Linked DNA regions of Homo sapiens: region 2 is linked to region 1. Evidence: promoter capture Hi-C in 16 types of primary human blood cells and fetal thymus (Javierre and others, 2016). All regions are on one chromosome and are shown on one strand. The core of a region is centred on a gene start or on the middle of the fragment in contact, and the rest is flanking DNA. Distances in the headings are between cores, read along the strand shown. Region 1 holds the start of ABCD4 (ATP binding cassette subfamily D member 4). Region 2 overlaps NPC2 (NPC intracellular cholesterol transporter 2).

Region 1 (5,983 bases), core at 1,580-4,079:
TCAGGAGGCTGAGGCAGGAGAATTGCTTGAACCTGGGAGGCAGAGGTTGCAGTGAGCCAAGATCGTGCCATTGCGCTCCAGCCTTGGGGGACAAGTCTAAAAAAAAATCCCAAACACTAATGTACCTCATTTTCCTAACCTGAAACATCATGTTATCATCTGTGCTGCTGCTGCTGTTCTCTTTGGAAGATGATAGAGCTCTTCAAGTTTCACCAGTCTTTTGCTTCTTTACAGGTCTTTCTGGAGCAACCTGCTTTTTCCTCTTTAACTTTTTGTCAACATCACTGTCAGAACCGCTGCCAGAAGAGCTTGAAGAAGTAAGTTCCTTTGATTTGGGCATTACTCTGCTCTGCTGCACTCCAGTAGCCTCCCGCTTGCTCACTGGTAACTCTGGTGTATTACTTCTTCTTCTTCTTTTTTTTTTTTTTTTTTGAAACAGTCTCACTCTTGTCACCCAGGCTGGAGTACAATGGCACAATCTCAGTTCAATGCAACCTCCGCCTCCTGGGTTCAAGTAATTCTCCTGCCTCAGCCTCCCAAGTAGCTGGGATTACATGCACCCGCCACCACACCTGGCTAATTTTTGTACTTTTAGTAAAGACGGGATTTTGTCATGTTGGCCAGGCTGGTCTTGAACTCCTGACCTCAGGTGATTTGCCTGCTTCGGCCTCCAAAAGCGCTGGGATTACAGGCGTGAGCCACCGTGCCCAGCCTGCTACTTCTTAAAAGTTTACAGTAATAGACAATGCTGAGGCACCCTGGGACAGTAATGCCACCGAATACCAAACTAGGACATTTTTGAGACTGAAAGGGGACAAGATCTGTAAACCTAGATTACCCTAGAGAGGTGACGTTGCTTGCTTTAATACTTTGGTTGCCTTATTAATTTTTCAAAAATTGCATCCTATTTTTTTGGTTTTCAAAATAAGAAAGACATACTTGAATAAAGTTATTTCCTCTTCAAAGTCTTTCTAGATTCCACTTTTCCCCATGCTGAGTTAAATGCCTTTCTCTTTGGTTCTGGGGCAGTGGTTCTCAATGCTAGGGGGTGGGGTAAAGCTGGAATTTTGGTCCTTTCTCCCCTAAGGGACATTTGGCAATGTTTAGAGACATTTTGGGATGCCTAGGTCAGAAGGAATGCCACCGGCATCTAGTGCGTAGAGGCCTGGGATACAGCTAAACATCCTACATTGCATAGGAAAGCCTACACAGCAAAGAATGATCAGGCCCCAAAACTTAATGGCGCCAAAGTTGAGAACCCCTGCTGTATGGTATGTTTGTCATAGCACTTCATAAAGACAGCTGTAGGCCGGGCACGGTGATTCACACCTGTAATCCCAGCATTTTGAGAGGCCAAGGTGGGTGGATCACCTGAGGTCGGGAGTTCGAGACCAGCCTGACCAACATGGAGAAACCACGTCTCTACTAAAAATACAAAATTAGCCGGGTATAGTGGTGCATGCCTGTAATCCCAGCTACTCGGGAGGCTGAGGCAGGAGAATCGCTTGAACCCGGGAGGCACAGGTTGCAGTGAGCCAAGATAGCACCATTGCACTCCAGCCTGAGCCACAAGAGCGAAACTCCGTCTAAAACAAAAACAAAAACAAAAAAAGGCCAGGAGCGGTGGCTCACTCTTGTAATCCCAACACTTTGGAAAGCCAAGGCGGGCAGATCACCTGAGGTTAGGAGTTCAAGACCAGCCTGACCAATATGGAGAAACCCTGTCTCTACTAAAAATACTAAATTAGCTGGGCGTGGTGGCACATGCCTGTAATCCTAGCTACTCGGGAGGCTGAGGCAGGAGGATGGCTTCAATCCGGGAGGCTGAGGTTGCCGTGAGCCGATATCGCGCCATTGCACTCTAGCCGGGGCAACAAAAGCAACACTCCGTATCAAAAAAAAAAAAAAAAAAAAAAAAATCTGTAATTGTCAACTGATTGACCTACCCAGCTAGACTGCAACTTTCATAAAGACAAGTGATACATGCATGTTGTAGAGTGTTTGGCTTGCAGTTGAAACTTAATAAGGATTGGAGGAAAGTGAGAAGACACATCCAGATTCAAATTTAGGGACCTGTGGGATCATGCTGTTTGGGTTTTTTTTGAGCCATTTCCCACCTCCCTTTGGGTACTAATCAGTCAACTGATAAGCATTTCATTCATTCAACTATCTATCTTATCTATCGATCATTATCATCTATTTATTTGTTTTTGAGACAGGGTCTCTCTTTGTCGCCCAGGCTGGAGTGCAGTGGCACAGTCACGGCTCACTGCAGCCTTGACCTTCCGGGCCCAAGTGATTCTCCTGCCTCAGCCTCCAGAGTAGCTCGGACCACAGGCGCTCGCCACCATCCCCGGCTAATGCTTTTGTCTTTTGTAAAGGCGGGGTCTTGCCATGTTGCCCAGGCTGGTCTTGAATTCCTGGGCTCAAGCGATCCTCCCGCCTTGGCCTTCCAAAGTGCTGGGATTACAGGAGTAACCCACCGGGCCCGGCTGGAAGCCTAATTTATACTTTTTTAAAGATCATGCTGGCTTCTCTGGGAGAATATGTAAAACATCTATTATACACAGAATCTAAAATACTTGCCATAAAGTAGTTACACTCTCGGATACCTATTGTCAAAAGGGAAGTCTCCCAGAAAATATGGGGGCGCTGTAGCCGCCGGGTCAGCCGAGTCCACTCTCTGGTACTTTTAGAGACGTCGGTCGCTTCCGGGAGAGTCCGCGTCTCCCGCACCTTCCTCTCTATCAAACGCCGTCTCTGTGGTAGCCGGGGCCCCGCCCCTCCTCGGACTCTACCCAGTACTGAACTAGGGGCAGCTGGGCTCCAGAGTCCCTCGGGTCTCAGGTCATGGCGGTCGCGGGGCCCGCGCCCGGAGCTGGCGCCAGGTAAGCAGGGCGGTCGGGGAGGAGGTTTGGGAGCAGGAGTTCCGGGCTGTAGGGAATGGGCTTTCCTGCCCTCCGTGCCTCGTCCGCCGCCCTGGCGCCCCCGTCTCGCCCCCGTGACTTCTGAGAGAAAGAGGAGCTCTCGAAGGGGCGTCCGCCCTCCCGCCGCTCTAGGCCGCTCCGCACCGGCCGCGGCCCCCTCCGTTCTTGGCCGGACTTGTGCCATCTCCTGCGGTGTGGGACCCTCACCCTCGCAACTGGCATTCTTTTTTTGAAAAGAAGAACCTCAGGTGCACAAAATTGAGTTGATCCTTCTCAGTTCTTGACACCCTGTGGGCCAATGCAAGGCTCCTTGTTTATTTTATCACTTCCTCTCTTCGTTCCTATTCCCAGACCCCTTTCACTCCCCTTTTCAGACAGCCACTCTGGTGTGTTATATAAGTGGCTTTACGGTCCACCTTGGGTAAATTTGTGCAAGTGTTACTTTGAAATCTATATAGCGGTTTCGAATTCTTCAATATAATATGCTGTGATTTTTCTTTAAACCTTTTTCCTCAACATTGTGTTTTTGAGTCCATCCATGCTAGTCATCTTGTTTTCACTTCTGAGTGCTTGCATGAGGGGTGCTGTGTGCATAGACTTATTCCCCTAGTGGTGGATAGATTTTTTTCTAGTATTAACACCCCCACAAGCCACACTGTAACGAATATTCTGGCAGTTGTCTCCTTGTGCATATTGTTGCATTTCTCTGGGTATCCACCCCAGAGTTGGGTCCTGGTCATATCTAATTTTGCTGGATTGTTCTTTGGAATGGTCACACTAGTTTATACTTCCCGACGGGCAGTGCATAAAGCTTCCTGTTTCCCGGTATCCCTCCATCGTTCAGTGGCGGCTGGTTTTGTAATGTTTATCAGTCTGGGGGGTGTAAGGTGGTATCCCATCGTGTACATTTTCTTTCTTTCTTTCTTTCTTTCTTTTGAGACGGAGTTTTGCTCTTGTTGCTCGGGCAGGAATGCAGTGGCATGATCTCGGCTCACTGCAACCTCCGCCTCGGGTTCAAGCGATTCTTCTGCCTCAGCCTCCTGAGTAGCTGGGATTACAGACGCGCGCCACCACACCCAGCTAATTTTTTGTATTTTTAGCAAAGATGGGGGGGTTGGCCAGTCTGGTCTTGAACTCCTGACCTCAGGTGATCCACCCGCCTCGGCCTCCCGAAGTGCAGGGATTACACTTCCCGACGGGCAGTGCATAAAGGAATTACAGACGTGAGCCACTGCTCCCGGCCTACATTTTCATGTGTTTATTAAACGTGGGTTTTCCCTTTTTTGAATTGCCTGTTTATATCCCTTCCCACTTCTCTGTGGATTTCCTATGTTCCTGGCTTGCAGGAATTCTTGTAGGCTCTAGATTTAGATCCTGGCCATGCCCGGTGGCTCACACCTGTCATCCTATCACTTTGGGAGGCTGAGGTAGGTGGACCACTGGAGTCCAGGAGTTCAAGATCAGCCTGGGCAACATGGTGAAACCCCATCTCTACCAAAAATACAAAAATTAGCTGAGCGTGTTGACGCACGCCCGTACTCCCAGCCACTAAAAAGGCTGAGGTGGGACAGTCGCTTGAACCCGGGAGGCAGAGGTTGCCCTGAGCTGAGATCGCACCACTGCATTCCAGCCTGGGCAACAGAGCAAGACCTTGTCTCAAAAAAAAAAAAAAAAAGATTTTAGGCCAGGCGCGGTGGCTCACGCCTGTAATCCCAGCACTTTGGGAGGCCGAGGCAGGTGGATCACCGGAGGTCAGGAGTTCGAGACCAGCCTGACCAATATGATGAAACCCCGTCTCCTACTAAAAATACAAAAATTAGCCGGGCGTGGTGGCATGCACCTGTAATTGCAGCTTGTCAGGAGGCTGACACAGGAGAATCACTTGAACCAGGGAGGCGGAGGTTGCAGTGATCCGAGATTGCGCCGTTGCATTCCAGCCTGGGCAACGAGCAAAACTCCGTCTCAAAAAAATAAAGATTTCAAGTCCTTGTTGGTTTTGCACTCTGCAGATACCACCTCCAAGTCTTCTAACTTAATCTATGGCACTGTGTTGAATAAAAACATTTAACTCTAATGAAGTTAAATTCATCAGTTTTCCCCTGTATAGGTTTTTAAGGTATCTTCATTAAGACATTTTTCTACATTTCCTTCTATTAACATGATAGTGTTACTTTTCACGTTTAGATTTTTAATCCATTTGTAATTTTTTAAGTTTTTTGTTTTTGGTTTTTTTTTTTTTTTTGAGACGGAGTTTTGCTCTTGTTGCCCAGGCTCTTGTTGCAATGGCGCAATCTCAGCTCACTGCAACCTCTGCCTCCCAGGTCCAAGCAATTCTCCTGACTCAGCCTCCCGAGTAGCTGGGATTACAGGCATGAGCCACCACGCTTGGCCAAAGAATTTCCTTTGTATCCGTGGTCTGTTCCCAGCCTACCATCTTCAGCATTTGAAAACCATTCTTTCTGCATGGCCTGGACCCTCTACAGAACAATGTGGATGAGCTTAATAACTACTCCCTAAGGCTTAATTATTGTCTTGGGCTTTTCTCTGCCTCCCCACCTTCTCTTCAGGCCCAGGTTAGATCTGCAATTTCTCCAGCGGTTCCTGCAGATACTGAAGGTTTTGTTTCCTTCTTGGTCATCACAAAATGCCTTGATGTTCCTGACCCTTTTGTGCCTGACCCTACTGGGTGAGTGAGTGAGCCCAGACTAGAGGAGGGAGGGGAGCTCTGGTTTGGGGTCCCTTTCCATCTTTTTTTTTTTTTTTTTTTTTTTTGAGACAGAGTTTCTCTCTTGTTGCCCAGGCTGGAGTGCAGTGACATAATCTCAGCTCACTGCAACCTCTGCCTCCCTGGTTCAAGTGATTCTCCTGCCTTCGCCTCCTGAGTAGCTGGGATTACAAGCACCCACCACCACGCCCGACTAAACTTTGTATTTTTCAGTAAAGACAGGGTTTCACCATCTTGGCCAGGCTGATCTCGAACTCATGACCTCAGGTGATACACCCGCCTCAGCCTCCCAAAGTGCTGGGATTACAGGCGTGAGCCACCGCGCCCGGCC
Region 2 (5,983 bases), core at 2,755-5,254, 180 kb before region 1:
AGATCTCACACCCAGTAAGTGGTAGGAAACCGTGGGTCTTTGTGAGCCACTTTGGGTTTCCAAAAAAAGAAGGGAAATAAATCCAGAAATTATTCTACTTATTTGAAAAAGCAGGAGTACACCTATGGGAAGAAGCTTTTAAAGGGAAGAAGGGTTTCAGTTACAGATTTATAATTTACTTTTGAATTGGGAAATATGATATAAAGACTTCAGTGCCCACATCAAAGATTTTTGTGTTCCACTCTACACCCACCTTCCCTGGCGTGGGATTTCCTCAAGTGAGAAAGTGGACCAAGCAAACTAATTTTGTAATGTTTGCTGGTTAGAACAGAGGAGTTTGTTCTATTGACACTGGAAGTCTAAGAACCTCTTGTCATCAGAAAACTGGATGAAAGAGCTATAAGTACTACCCTTTACTTACTTCCTACTAGATTATGTGACTCAGCCTTGAAAGAAGCAGGTGGAAGCTGGACATTGAAAGCCTTAACATTAGCACTGATTTTCAATAGATTGTTGATTGAAGTTCGGGATTTCTTTTTTCCCTATTCACCAAAAATGGGTTGGAGTGGAAGAGAGTGTTTCTCAAACTGTTTTGGATGCTTAAGAGTGTGTGCAGTTTAAGAACTTTGCAATGATGGAGAAGCAAGCTGAGGGATAAAGGACTGCAAGGTACTATTTACTGACCTAGCTGGAGCAGTGTTGGTCAGTGTGATGATAGTTAAAGAGACTGTTCCACCCAAGGGTAGGTACAGGCAGCAAAGAACATCTACTTAGATTTCTGAGTTCATATCATACTTTTATAGTACTGAGCTAATCTGGTGACTGACTGCATAGCAGATAATGTACTCTCAACCTGCAGTTTGCCTCTGTCTTCATGCATTCCACTTTTGAGACAGAAAGAGTCCATCCTATTGGCTAGAAACATAATTTCTATCCACAAAGTATATTTGAGGTGAGAGGTCCAGTTTTTGTGTCAGAAGGGAACTTGCTAACCTACCCAGGAGCAGCTATTCTAGATTAAACTCATGGACTAAATCCAGATATGATAATAATAGTAAATATATGTATCACTATGTTCCAAACACTTACCTAAGATCTGTATTTGTGTTAGCTCAGCTACACCATTATCTCCAGAGAGGTAAAGTATCTTGCCTTGAGGCTATACAGTAAGTAGCAGAGATAGTGAGATTTCAAACCCAGGCATCCGGCACCAGAGTCTGCCTCTCAGCAATGATGGCTGAATGGCAGAACTTAACTTACCCTGTTACAGGCACTGTTATCAGGCAGTTCACCTGCATTCTCTCCCATTCAACTGCCCAGTCTCTGGGGCAGGAGGAAATGGGATTTTTAAAGGCTTTATTTAAACCTTTTTTGGTCAAGCATTTATTGTATACAAGTACTTTTGTCCTTGGTTAGACTGAGATTAAAATACATACATACACACACAGACACACACACACACACTTATTTTAAGAACGCAGGTTCCCAAAATCGAGTATACATCTGTAGATTGCAGATGTGTGCTTAAAATCAGTTTTTGAAACTACTTAGAAACAACCTGGACAAGTCAGATGAATCCAATTTCTTTTCTTAAATTTTTTAATTTTGAAAAATATGTATTTGTTTTGAGGATTCCCAGGGATAAATCCTATTTCTGACTCTTTCTAGTACCTTCTTAGGTCTCATCCTTATGTTTTTAACATATGCAGTATTTGCAAGTGTATCATTCCCAGCAGCTATATAGACCTAGGCCAAGTTAATATTTCAGAGGAAATGAAACCCAGACTCAGGTAGCAGTATTCTTCTTTAATGCAGCTGGCACTTCTGCCATCTTGGCTGTGTGAGTCAGTGCTATTTGGAGTTAAGCTTAACTTGTGCCCTAAGCTTGTACTGAAACTATAAAGACCTTAACCTCTGTACTCCTCTTCATCCCCTTGATTCTTGGAAAAAATCCAGATCTTAACAACCTTAGTCAAGATTTAAGGTACTTCCTGTTGTTTTTGGAGCCAAAATATTTCATGACTCATAAGTGGGCCTTAAAGAACAGGACTAAATCATTGAAGAAACTGCAGAAGTGCAGTGAAAATGGTGCAGTTCCCAATTCAGAAGTGGGAGGTAGTTCCTCTCTTAAGGGTCATTCCTAGTTCAGAGATGGTAGGTGGTTTTTCTGTTTAGGGTCACTCCTCTGTTCAGTGTTAAGTGGTAGTTCCTCTTAAATTCCATAGTCTGCTTACTCGGAAGTGAGTAGGCTTCTGGAATCAGTCTTATTTTATTTTATTTTATTTTTTGAGACAGAGTCTTGCTCTGTCACCCAGGCTGGAGTGCAGTGGCGCAATCTCGGCTCACTGCAACCTCTGCCTCCCCAGTTCAAGCGATTCTCCTGCCTCAGCCTCCTGAGTAGCTGGGATTACAGGTGAGCACCACCATACCTGGCTAATTTTTGTATTTTTATTAGAGACGAGGTTTCACCATGTTGGTCAGGCTGGTCTCGAACTCTTAACCTCTTGATCCACCTGCCTTGGCCTCCCAAAGTGCTGGGATTATAGGCATGAGCCACCATGCCCACCCTTGAATCAGCCTAATTTTAAAAGCCAAGACTGATATTCTGACACTTTTCATCGTTTTACCTATACCTTTAATAGTGCTGCTTATTTCTCTAGGAAGTCAAGTTGGGGTGAAAGAAAGAAGGGATTCCAGGAAGACAAAATACTGGGCAAAGGATTTACCAGCAGTTTGGGAGAAAGGGTACAAAATCTGGATAGAAGATACTTCATCACTGAAAATCACAGAGGATATAGGGGTTGAACCTCTACGATAGAAAGAGAATCATGGTGAGGGGCAAAGAGGCGATGCTGAATTAAGAAACCTGAAAAGTTGAGTTTGAGACAGACCTTCATCCAGAGTCCTCAAGTAGTTCTCAGATGCAAATTTCCTTGGGGTGTCCTTCCATTCATCAACATGGCTGCGTATTTAAAGCTTCTTTCAGGTTCCGGTAACAAGGGCTTCCAAGTCAGGCCCACCCATTGAGTCTTCGATCTGCCCCTTCCAGGCAATGTGACCTTGGACAAATCTCAGTAATCTTTGCTCTTCTGGTTTCTAACCCCTAAAACAAGGATGATAAATACCATTGTTGTGAGATGTTTTCTTCAGATGCCTCTGCTTTCCTTCATTCTTGCTAGTCAAGGTACAATTTCCATAGAGTCTAAAAATGAATGATTCAGGAACTAAAAACTCTTGAAGCCAGATTCAAGAAAGGTTCAGTCTGTTTTGGGATCTGGCAGACTTTCCAAGCAATAATAGCAGACTCCCTCAATCAGTGTTTGCTCATGTAGAACTTGAGGTAGAAAGATGTTGTAATTCATTTCTGATCTTCCTCCGCGGAGTTTCAGGCTCTACATTTGCTTTCTAGCTGTTTCCGCATAAAGTGCGGTTTTTGGCCAGGTGCGGTGGCTCATGCCTGTAATCCCAGGACTTTGGGAGGCCAAGGTGGGCAAATTGCTTGAGCCTAGGAGTTTGAGACCAGCCTGGGCAACATGGTGAAACCCTGTCTCTACAAAACACAAAAATTAGCCGGGTGTGGTGGTGCATGCCTATTGTTCTAGCTACTCAGGAGGATGGAGTAGGAGGATCACTTGAGCCTGGGACGGTTGAGGCTGCAGTGAGCTGAGATTGTGCCATTGCATCTAGCCTGGGTGACAGAGTGAGACCCTGTCTCAAAAAAAAAAAACAAAAAAAAACCACAAAAACAAAACAGGGAGGGTGCAATGACTCACGCCTGTAATCCTAGCACTTTGGGAGGCCTAGGCAGGCAGACCACGAGGTCAGGAGATCAAGACCATCCTGGCCAACATAGTGAAACCCTGTCTCTACTAAAATACAAAAACTTAGCCGGGCATGATGGCACTCGCCTGTAGTCCCAGCTACTCAGGAGGCTGAGGCAGGGAATGGTTTGAACCCGGGGGGTGGAGGTTGCAGTGAGCTGAGACTGTGCCACTGCACTCCAACCTGGTGACAGAGCAAGACTCCATCTCAAAAAAAAAAAAAATGTAGTTGTTCCTGTAGTGAACAACTTTCATCAGATTTACATGCTAATCTATATGCTAGAAAAAGAAAGGGAAAATAGGAATATTTTCATCCAAAGGAAGGTTGAAGCAAACGTCTTCAAGGTTTAAGTTTAAACTGTGACCCTTACCATTAAGAATGCGAGATAAGACTCTAGGAATGTTTGGAATTTCTCTGATTGAAGTTTAATTCCTTTAATATGATCATTTATGGATATGGTCTTGATATTATTTAGTTTGACAAATATTAACTTTCTCTTGATCAAAAAACCAACTAGCTTCTTTATCATCTGAATTAAAGGCTATGATTTTAGCAGCAAGATGAATCAAGATTCTGACTTCTAATTGGGCATTATTCTTAAAGATTCCATCCTGGGAAACAGTCCGAGGAGAATGAGTTGACCCTAAATGGGAGAGCAGAGCACCTTCCCATTAGGTGGTGGGCAGCCTAGCTGGCTTATTTCTCCTCCTATTCTCCTATTCCAATTCATTTTTCTTTTGCAGGTTCTGTGGATGGAGTTATAAAGGAAGTGAATGTGAGCCCATGCCCCACCCAACCCTGCCAGCTGAGCAAAGGACAGTCTTACAGCGTCAATGTCACCTTCACCAGCAGTGCGTAAAAGTGGCTCTTAACTCAAATTCATGTTACAGCATAACCTAAATATCAAGTGTTGGAATAAGCATGGGAATGGAGGGGAGGGGAATTGGCAGTCATGAATTTTATGATTTCTTTTGCACCTCATGCAAAGCTAGGGTTCACTGTGCCCTTGGACACCCTTCTCATGCAGGGTCCATGGCTCCCAGACTCCCTTTAAGCAAACAGGGAGATGTCCATGTGTTCACAGGTTAGAGAAGACAGCTTGGCTTTTCTGTCTTGACCCATATTGCATAGTAGGCTATGATGGGAATGTCAGCTCTGTTTAGCTACAGACTGCAGAGTATTAGTATGGACCCCAATTCTTTAAGCTTTGGAACTCCTCCAAAATGTTGTTTTAAGCAGTAATGCCTTTCAGCTATTAAGTCTACATCCCACCTGAAAATAAAGGTGCAACTAATACTTAACAGCCTCCTTAAGATTTAGGGAACCCACTGGGGACCCAAGAAATAGCCAAGAAATCTGAGCTTTCTTCTCCAATATTCAAGAAATATCATTGGAACTTTTTGCTTTCTTGTACCACATCACTTTGAGATTTTTAAGAATCTAGACAAATGTAAAATCTTTTATTACTAAGCAGGGCATGTTCCTTGAATCTTTTCCTCATTTTCTGTCCTGTGAAACTAGACTAGACAGTCTAATAAGAAACCTCAAAGTTCCTGTCATCTTTTGTTCATAAGCCTAAAGACAGCTCTAAGTACTAGCTCCCTGTTTCCTCTCTGGACTATACCCTGGCCTCTCTATTGTTCCAAACCAAAAAAAAAAGCCTTCTGAACAAGTCATCCCCAACCCAGACAGAAGGAAAGAAACAGAACCAATTTTCTGGGTCTCCAAAATACCCTAATAACTCATAAGTCTGATTGCCCTCATTTTTTAATACCTTTATTCCTCCTGGCCATCTTGTGATGTGGAGGGTAAAGTTTATAAAGAATTGCATGTCTTTCTAATCTTACCCAATTTCTTTTTTTTTTTTTTTTTTTTTTTTTTTTTTGTGACAGAGTCTCGCTCTGTCACCCAGGCTGGAGTGCAGTGGCGCAATCTCAGCACACTGCAACCTCCGCCTCCTGGGCTCAAGCGATTCTCCCGCCTCAGCCTCTTGAGTAGCTGAGATGACAGGCATGCGCCACCACGCCCGGCTAATTTTTGTAGTTTTAGTAGAGACAGGGTTTTTCCATGTTGGCCAGGCTGGTCTCAAACTCCTGACCTCAGATGATCCACCCGCCTCAGCCTCCCAAAGTGCTGGGATTACAGGTGGGAGCTACTGTGA

What was found. Contacts are between HindIII fragments. The CHiCAGO score rates a contact against its expected background, and 5 or more counts as called.
Region 2: a contact is called between a fragment that was not itself captured here and the fragment with the promoter of ABCD4 in region 1, in 1 of 17 cell types (endothelial precursors). The highest score is 5.8, in endothelial precursors.

What each region holds. Positions count from the first base shown.
Region 1 is chr14:74,299,780-74,305,762 of GRCh38, reverse strand. It overlaps ABCD4 (ATP binding cassette subfamily D member 4), which reads left to right and starts at 2,829. Exons shown (of 19, transcript NM_005050.4): 1 at 2,829-2,888; 2 at 5,495-5,613. The coding sequence starts at 2,851. It also overlaps a transcript of VRTN not described here and the pseudogene SUB1P2. RefSeq lists an enhancer at 2,381-2,740 and a silencer at 3,001-3,080. The HindIII fragment of the contact is 30,195 bases long and covers 1-3,740 here.
Region 2 is chr14:74,485,019-74,491,001 of GRCh38, reverse strand. NPC2 (NPC intracellular cholesterol transporter 2) reads left to right here. Exons shown (of 5, transcript NM_006432.5): 2 at 4,566-4,673. Among named protein-coding and RNA genes, the nearest start is that of NPC2, 5.3 kb to the left of the region's middle. RefSeq lists an enhancer at 2,013-3,212. The HindIII fragment of the contact is 2,051 bases long and covers 2,979-5,029 here.